Linked DNA regions of Homo sapiens: region 1 is linked to region 2. The links are contacts of gene promoters, found by promoter capture Hi-C in blood cells and fetal thymus (Javierre and others, 2016). All regions are on one chromosome and are shown on one strand. The core of a region is centred on a gene start or on the middle of the fragment in contact, and the rest is flanking DNA. Distances in the headings are between cores, read along the strand shown.

Region 1 (4,041 bases), core at 252-2,751, 470 kb before region 2:
GAAAGGCTTCATTTGCCATTTCCAAGTAAAGAAGAATGAAGATTGACTGGGTGAAAAGGCGGTTTATGCACACAACCAGCAGGTGGCGCCCACCCTTCTGCACATCTAGCAGCCTGGTTAGTCCCTCCCAAATTACAGCAACCAGGAAGGAGTCAAATGCTGATGTCCACCTGGGCCAACCCTCACCCCCACACACATCCCACACCTTATACTCTGAGCTACTCTGAACCCACTACCTACAGAAACTAGAACAGATAGGAAACAGCATGGTTAAAAATGTTCCACACTTGCTTTCACTTTCAAGAAGAATGTCACTTCTGTGCTTTTACTTTCAGATAATTTAAAAACCAAAAGTCTACTTAATGCCAAAAAAAAAAAGAGAAGTAAAAATAGTAATTGATTTCAGAGTGGTGAGGACGCTGGACCTAAAACCAGGGGTACAAGGAAGCAGCCTCGGTGTGGTGGGGATCAGTGAGAGCCTGTGACTCCTGGGGCCCTCCTCGGCCACTGAGCTGGGGCTCACTGACACCAGGAGGCCAGCTCAGAGCATGGCAGCTGCTGCAGGCAGGGCCACTCGGCCGAATGAAGGCAATGGGGTGCAGAGGAGAGAACGGGGCTCTGGAGCCAGAACATCTGCTTTGCTGGCTCTGTGGCCATGTGTGAGTTACCCACTCTCACCAAACCACTATTTCTCAACTTCTAAATTGGTCCATAACACACTCCCAGAGGAGTTGACATGATCAGCATGTTTAAGTGCCTAGTGGTGCCCAGCATATAATATATACTCAGTCAGTAGAGGTAGCTCAACCCCATTACTCTCCTCTCTCACTCCCTTCCAGCCACACTGGCCTCTTTGCTGTATCTTGTGTAGATCAGGAATGATTTCACCTTAGGACATTTGCATTGGCTTTTCCCTCTACCTGGAATCTTCTTACCCAAGATATCTGCTTGGCTCCCTCCCTATATTTCTTTCAAAAGTAAGCTTCTTAATAAAGCAGAGCTGACCAGTCCATTTAAATTACAACTTACCCTTTATCCTTGCCACTTGCACTCTCATTCCTTATTCAGCTCTATTTCTATAGTGGTTACCGCCTTCTAACATGTTGTATAATTTACATATTTATTAGGGTTATTGTTTACTGCCTACTACTCCCACCCACATATCCCAGCTTTTATCTATTCTGTTTACTGCTGTATCTCTAGAGTCAATAACACTGACTGGACATCGTAGACACTCAACAAATACTTATCAGTTTTATGAATGAATGGATGCATGGATAGATGCTCTTCCATCTTCAAAAATCAAATATCATCTGTCAAACAGAGAGAGCAGGTGTTAAGGTCAAAGGCGATCCCTTATGTGAAAGGGCAGGTGGAGGAGGAAGCACTGCACCATGGAAAACTGTGTTCCAGGTGGTTGCCAAGAATACTCAGAAGTTAGAGATGAAGGGCTGCCCCAGACACAGCCTTGGGGCCCAAGATTCATACTGCTGTTAGAGGGGCACAAACTTGCTGGGTTTTGACTCTGGGAGGAAAACCACGTGTGGGGTCTTAAGCGGGGCCCTGTGTCTTTGGGGATTCACATTTGTTGCACCCAACTATACTCTGGAGCTTCAGAAATCAATGGAAGTTGCTCTGGATTCAAAAATCAATAGAAGTTGCTCCCTTCCCTGGAGATGCCCACGGTCAACCTTTGTCTTTTGGAGTCAGGCTAACCTGAAGTTGAATCCCAGCTCTACCACCATTGAGTTATGACCTTGGACAAATCACGTAAATTATCTGAGTTTACACTTCTATACATGGCAATATTAGTGGCCACTTTTCAGCAGACTGCCTACACACAGTGTGAATTTGAGAAATACTAGTTCCCTTACCGTTCCGTCTTCCATCTCTGAAACTTCGCTGGAGCTCCATCTTCTTGAGACATGGCGATGCATTTCAGGAGTTTCCCTGAAGAGGGAGCCAGAGCACCACGGAAATCCTAATTGTTGGCTGACAGCAGTCAGCGCAGGGAAGCTTATGGGCACAGCCAGTCAGCAAGTCTTTTGGGTCCAGACCTCGGCTTCCTCTCTCTCAATGCCTTCTATCAAAACCCCCCCACCTTGTGCCAAGTGCTGCTCACAGTCTGCCAAGCAGCTCCCCTATCTCAGGCTCTACCTAGTCAAAATGATCTTTCAATCAAAATTCCAATTTTCTTTTCAGTCACTTTATATAGCTGTTGTCATAGTAAGTGACAACTTGGTTTAATAAAGCCAGTTGTGCCAGGATGTTGCTAGGTAATATTTGCTACTTCTAGGTAACGTGTATATTTTAACAGGTGCCTTCTGATGATACATATGGGGACAGGTAGGCATTCCAAATGCTGAGATCCAGTGCCACTCACCTTTAGACCACCCTGCATTCCATGGGCTATACTTAATATTTGGTGCTTACCCACAGTAAGCTTACATTAGGTTGAACACATAAAATTGTTCATAATCCACCATTTTACCTACAAAACAACAATTTCATATGGTCCAAAATAATATTTCACTTCTTCACCCCCACTCAATTTCAGTGTAGACTCCAGGTCTTTTTTTTTACTTTCCCCATCACATTTTTGCCCTCAAGCACTGTTTTCACTCTTGTTATATTCCCCCCCTCCAGCCCTACCTCAGTTTCCAGTTCCTACACCTTGCCTAGGCCACACCTCACCCTTGCAGGGCATCTCCCTGCTGAGGCAGCTGCTGTGATGGGATTGGTCCCACCTGCCATCTCCAAAATGAGCACAACAGGGCTTTGTCCAGCCAAGAACATAGGGCTCCAGCTCCTCCCATACCACAATATCCCATGAGCACTCTCTCAGTCTCCCAGCAAACTTCTCTGCCCTCGCAGACTCTGGAGTGCCAGTCCCATCGAGTAACTATCTGAAACCCTTTGAGTCTAATTGTCTTCAGATGTGAAATGTAAAAGGACAATGCACACCACATAAGGTTGACATAAGGAATGACTGGCGTAATGGTTGTAAAAAGCCTAGCACTGTGCCTGGCAGATGGCAGTCATTCTGCAAGGTACAGTTGCCCTCTCAGAACCTAGGCATGGTGTACAAGACCAAAGCCCCCAAAGCAACTCATTGTCCTGTCCACCTCTTCCTAAAATGCCATGTTATTGTTGCACCCCCATAGGCACCATTTTGTCAAGTGTGGTCTGGTCCTATTCTCCAAGCACTCTGTATCACACACTCCTGTGATTGCCACAGCATGGGGCAGGGCTGGCCTGGTAACTCCCTAAGGGACTAAGTCCTGCCTCACCAACAGTCTTCTATTCTGTCCTGGGCCCCTGAGATTCTGCCCTTCCACACAACAAGAGTAGTGACTGTGATACCAGAACCACATGACATGTTAAATAAAGAGGCTCTGTAAAGAGGAGCAGAGAGATGTGTGCCCCGGAGGGGAGGGAGGTGGTCAGGCTGGGGGTGAAGAGTGGTGGGACTTGGCCCTAGGAACTCCTGCCCTTTTGTCCTCCTTCCTGCCATACCCTCTCCTGTGTGTTCTTAGCATCTCACCCCCACTCCTCATCTCTCCAGTTCTAAAACAGTCTGTCAAGGCTTCTGGAAGTGGAGAGAGACCCAGGCTGGTTATGGAGGGATTATAAGGAACTGCTAAACACAAAAGACAATGGTCAGCCTCACCCAGACAAAGGCAAATGCCTGTCTTAGTGGGGAGATTGCATGTTCATCCAATTTGAAATTTTAAACAGATGTATAACTCTAAATACTTTAGAATTACAATGTTAGGTTGTGATTTTGAAAAATACCAGAAAAAATGGTATTATGCTAGCAAAAATATAAAGTGGAAATTTCCTCTTCCAATGGGAATGGAGTTACAGGGATGGATTTATCCTGTAACCTGAAACAACTACATAATCTGACAAGCTATAGTTGGCCTTCCTTATACTTGACTTCTACATCCATGGATTCAACCAACCATGGATCAAAAACATTTGAAAAAATACAATAAAAATACAATTTAAAAATACAGTATAACAACCATTTACATAGCA
Region 2 (4,304 bases), core at 1,282-3,781:
AAACACACGTATTAGCCTAGACCTGCACAGGGTCAGGATCATCAATATAACTGTCTTTCACTTCCACATCTGGTCCCACTGAAAGGTCTCCAGGGCAAAAACACACATCTCCTGTGATAACAATGACTTCTTCTGGAATACCCCCTGAAAGACCTGCCTGAGGCTGTTTTTTAAACTTTTTTTTAAGTTTTACTGTTTTTTTAATAAGTAGAAGGAATACACTCTAAAATAATGATGAAAAGTATAGTGTAGTAAATACATAATGCAGTAACAGTCATTTATTACCATTATCAAGTATTGCATACTACACATAATTGGTATGTGCTATATTTTTATACAACTGGCAGCACAGTAGTTTGTTTACACCAGCATCACCACAAACACATGAGTAAAGTATTGCGCTAGACAGCTACAAGGTCACTAGGCAACTGGAATTTTTTTAGCTCTATTATAATCTTATGGAACCACTGCTGAATACATGATCCATCGTTGGCTCAAACACTGTTATGCAGTGAATGACTGTACTTAATTTTATAATCAGTATGATCACAATTATGCAAATATTTGTTACATATGCATAAAAAGACTAGAAATATGAAAATGTTTATCTTTGGCTCATGTATTTATAAATCATTTTTTATACATTGATATATTTTCCAAGCCTTCTAAGAATGGAATCTTTGTACAGATTAAAAAGTTACAATAAGTGTTATTGTTGTTTTTAAATTTCTACCCAATGTTGCTTCCTGCAGAAATTATTCTGTGACCACTCCAAGAGGACTTGGAAGCCCCTCCTCAGTGTTCTCCTAGTATCCAATAGTATCCTCTACCATTCACTAAGCACACTGGATTTTAATTGTTTGCTTATCTAACGCCCAATACTTGGAACTCTTCAGAGAAAGAGACTGATTCTCTAATCCCTGAATTCCCAGGCCTACCACATACACTAAAGCACTCCTAAGGTCTGTGGACCAGATGAAGAAATCAGATGAGTAGGGGTACGCAAACCCAGGCATTCCCATTCTAAACCCAGTCGCATTGCAATCCCTGCAACAAAAGGGATCCGAGATTTCCTCCACTGGTGACTGTGACCTGGGGACTGGGAAGTACTGTATACAGGAAGATCTTGAAGAGCTGTCCCCTTGAATAGTCAGCACCAGGGTTGCACGGAAAGTAATAGCTGAAATCCAAGTTGGGTTTTCCTGGCAACAGCCAATATTAGTCAGAGGTGGCACTTGGAGGATTCCCCAGGTCTGCTCATTCCTTTAGGATCATTCATTCCTCCCAAGGCCTCCCTTGGGAACAAAGGAAAACCCCAGAGTTTGGGATTGGGCTCTTTTCCACCAACAGCTGCTAGTAGTTTGTATTTAACCCTGAGTCACAATTAAAATAAAAGAGGGCGGGCGGGGGAGGGGCGAGGAGTTGGTAAGCATCCCCTAGGAAACACTTAGGTTTTCTCTAAATTTATTCCAGAAAATTCTTCTAAAGGACTTTTCAAGGACCACAGCATACTGCCTTGGAAACTTAGTTTTTAACCTTTTTCTTTTCTTTTTTTCTTTTTTCTTTTTTTTTTTTTTTTTTGAGACAGAGTCTCACTCTGTCACCCAGGCTGGAGTGCAGTGGTGCGATCTCGGCTCACTGCAACCTCTGTCTCCCAGGTTCAAGCGATTCTCATGCCTCAGTCTCCTGGGATTACAGGCGCGCATCACCACTCCCGGCTAATTTTTGTATCAGTAGAGACAAGGTTTCACCATGTTGGCTAAGCTGGTGTTGAACTCCTGACCTGAGGTGATCCGCCCGCCTCGGCCTCCCAAAGTGTTGGGATTACAGGCGTGAGCCACCGCGCCCGGCCAGTTTTTAACACTATTAGCCACACTGAAACTGAACTATTGATCAAGTGACGCCACACAAAGGGGTAAATCCCCTGTTCAACAAAGGGTTTGTGACGCCCCTGGGTGCTGACAAGCCAAACCGCACCCTCCCTGCGGCACCTCGCGGGCCGGTGGGGCGGGAAGCCCGGCTTCTGGGGAGGTGCCGCCCCTCCACTGGCGCAGGCCGCCGAGACCCCCAGACGGACCTCCTAGGGCTAATCTGATAGTGCCTCTGAGGTCGATAGGACTCCACGTGCCACTCCCTGCAGGGTCATCCAGCAAGTAATTCCTAGACCCGTAGGTGGCCGCAGAGCCGGTTACCTCTGGTTCTGCGCCAGCGTGCCCCACCCGCAGGACGGCCGGGTTCTTTGATTTGTACACTTTCTAAAACCAAACCCGAGAGGAAGGGCAGGCTCAGGGTGGGGATGCCCTGAAATATTCGAGAGCAGGACCGTTTCTACTGAAGAGAAGTTTACAAGAACGCTCTGTCTGGGGCGGGCGAGGCCTCTGCGAGGCGGGTCCGGGAGCGAGGGCAGGGCGTGGGCCGCGCGCCCGGGGTCGGGGGAGTCGGGGGCAGGAAGAGGGGGAGGAGACAGGGCTGGGGGAGCGCCCTGCCGAGCGCCCGCCAGGCTCCTCCCGCTCCCGCGCCGCCTCCCTCTACCCACCCGCCGCACGTACTAAGGAAGGCGCACAGCCCGCCGCGCTCGCCTCTCCGCCCCGCGTCCAGCTCGCCCAGCTCGCCCAGCGTCCGCCGCGCCTCGGCCAAGGTGAGCTCCGCCCGGCCCACGCGCCCCTCCTGGGTAGTCCCCAGGCCCGGACCTGCTGCCCGGGGAAAACCCTGCACCCGGCTTCGCGGGGCGTCCGGAGCACCGCGGGGCTGGGCGGGGAGCGGCTGGTGGGGAATCCGCTGCTCAGTGCTCCGGGCCACACCCAAACGAGGCCAGCAGCGCCCCTCCCCGGCCCGGGCGCGGCCGCCCCCAGACCCACGCGGACCAGAGGAGGGGGCACTTGTTCTTTAGGAGGGGACCGTGGTATTGGTGCGCCTGAACCTCTTCCCTCCTCCCTTTATGTTTGCGTTGCTTTACTCCCACCTTTCCTACTTTCCCACTCGTCTCTCGGGTTACCGAATCCCTCCTACACGCCCCTGCCCTGGCTGGCGTGTTTCTTGGTGGGTTCCGCTCGCAGGCCGGGTCTGCATGTTCGTAGCCTGCTCCCGGCTGTACCGCCCAAGTAGGCGCGGGTAGGACGAGTAGGCAGCTGGGGCGTCCCTTCCGTAACCCTTAGTCCGTCGGCCAAACAGGCGTTTCTGGTCGGGGCTTCCTGTTGTCTGCTCGACGGAAAGGGTCTTCCTGCTGAGGGAGGGAGGTCCACTTGTTTTCTTTCTACAGCAGTTTGGCTGGGGTTTGTGGGAGAGGGCCCTGTGTGACGTGGTTTCTCTACTGAAAGGGTTCCCTTGCTGTCTTAATAAGTGGAACCAGAAAGAGATGGAGGAAGAGCAGGCTTGATGAAGGATCTTCCAATCATAGATTAATTTGGCCCGGTGCAGTGAAACAGACAGACGTGCCTTTGGTACTTGGTTCACCACCTGTGCTTTGGCCGAAGGAATGGCGCTGCCCCTAGCCGTGGACACTGCTGCCTGTCCAGCCTCAGTCCAGCTCTGCCTAAGTGAAACCAGGAGCTCTGCCTTGTTGGCTGGGGTGGAATGCAGAGCGCTCCAAGCCAGGCCAGCACAGGGGAGCCCTAAGCCAGATTCTGGGATGCATTAAGCCCACCCCGTTTTCTGCCCCCACCCAGTTCCGTCTCTGCGGGAGCTTCTGCAGGGCGTGGTTAGCACAAAGGGCTCCAGGATTCTCCCAGTGGTCTGAGGCCTGTGACTCAGCTGTGAGACCATGTGGGTGTGGCCGGTTGCAGATACTCTCGGTGGATGGTTTGGACAGAACACTCCCTGAAGGAAAAGGAGAACTGTGCCATCTCAGAGGGCATTTTCCAAGAGGAAGTGAGTCACACCTGGTCTGGCTGCCAGTCTGCAGGAGAGGTTTCTCGACTGAACTGCCGGTGAGGGCAGTAATTAGATCTGCAGGGCCTTGGCGAGACCGCTTTTCGTTATCGGCCAGTATGCGCCTGGCAGCCTGCCTCAGCCTTACTTGGGAGGTAGCTTTTCCCGCTAAGAGGTTTGCAGTTGTTGCGGATATTTTTCCCCAGAAGCTTGAGTTTCAGTCTCCAGGAATGGAGTTTTATGTTGTGCGTTTTAGGTGAGGCCAGGCTCATGGAAACACCCAGTCGGTGATCTTTGCCTCCAACATGTTTCAGCAAATTGCAAAAGATAATGCCAGGGGTTGGAGTGGGAATGAGTTCATATAACTTATTGGAAGTTTCTTCATCGGCCCTGCCCCCACAGATTCCTATCCAGTTTCTCTTTAATCATCCCTTCCA

The links. Contacts are between HindIII fragments. The CHiCAGO score rates a contact against its expected background, and 5 or more counts as called.
Region 1: a fragment that was not itself captured here is called in contact with the fragment with the promoter of S100A10 in region 2 in 3 of 17 cell types (naive CD4 T cells, naive CD8 T cells and non-activated CD4 T cells); the score reaches 7.1 in naive CD4 T cells.

Annotation. Positions count from the first base shown.
Region 1 is chr1:152,456,505-152,460,545 of GRCh38, reverse strand. No RefSeq gene overlaps it. Among named protein-coding and RNA genes, the nearest start is that of CRNN, 44 kb to the right of the region's middle. RefSeq lists enhancers at 1-40, 1,959-2,028. The HindIII fragment of the contact is 1,034 bases long and covers 985-2,018 here.
Region 2 is chr1:151,992,086-151,996,389 of GRCh38, reverse strand. It overlaps S100A10 (S100 calcium binding protein A10), which reads left to right and starts at 2,531. Exons shown (of 3, transcript NM_002966.3): 1 at 2,531-2,638. RefSeq lists silencers at 2,104-2,233, 2,364-2,413, 2,424-2,723 and an enhancer at 3,292-4,304. The HindIII fragment of the contact is 5,740 bases long and covers 1-4,078 here.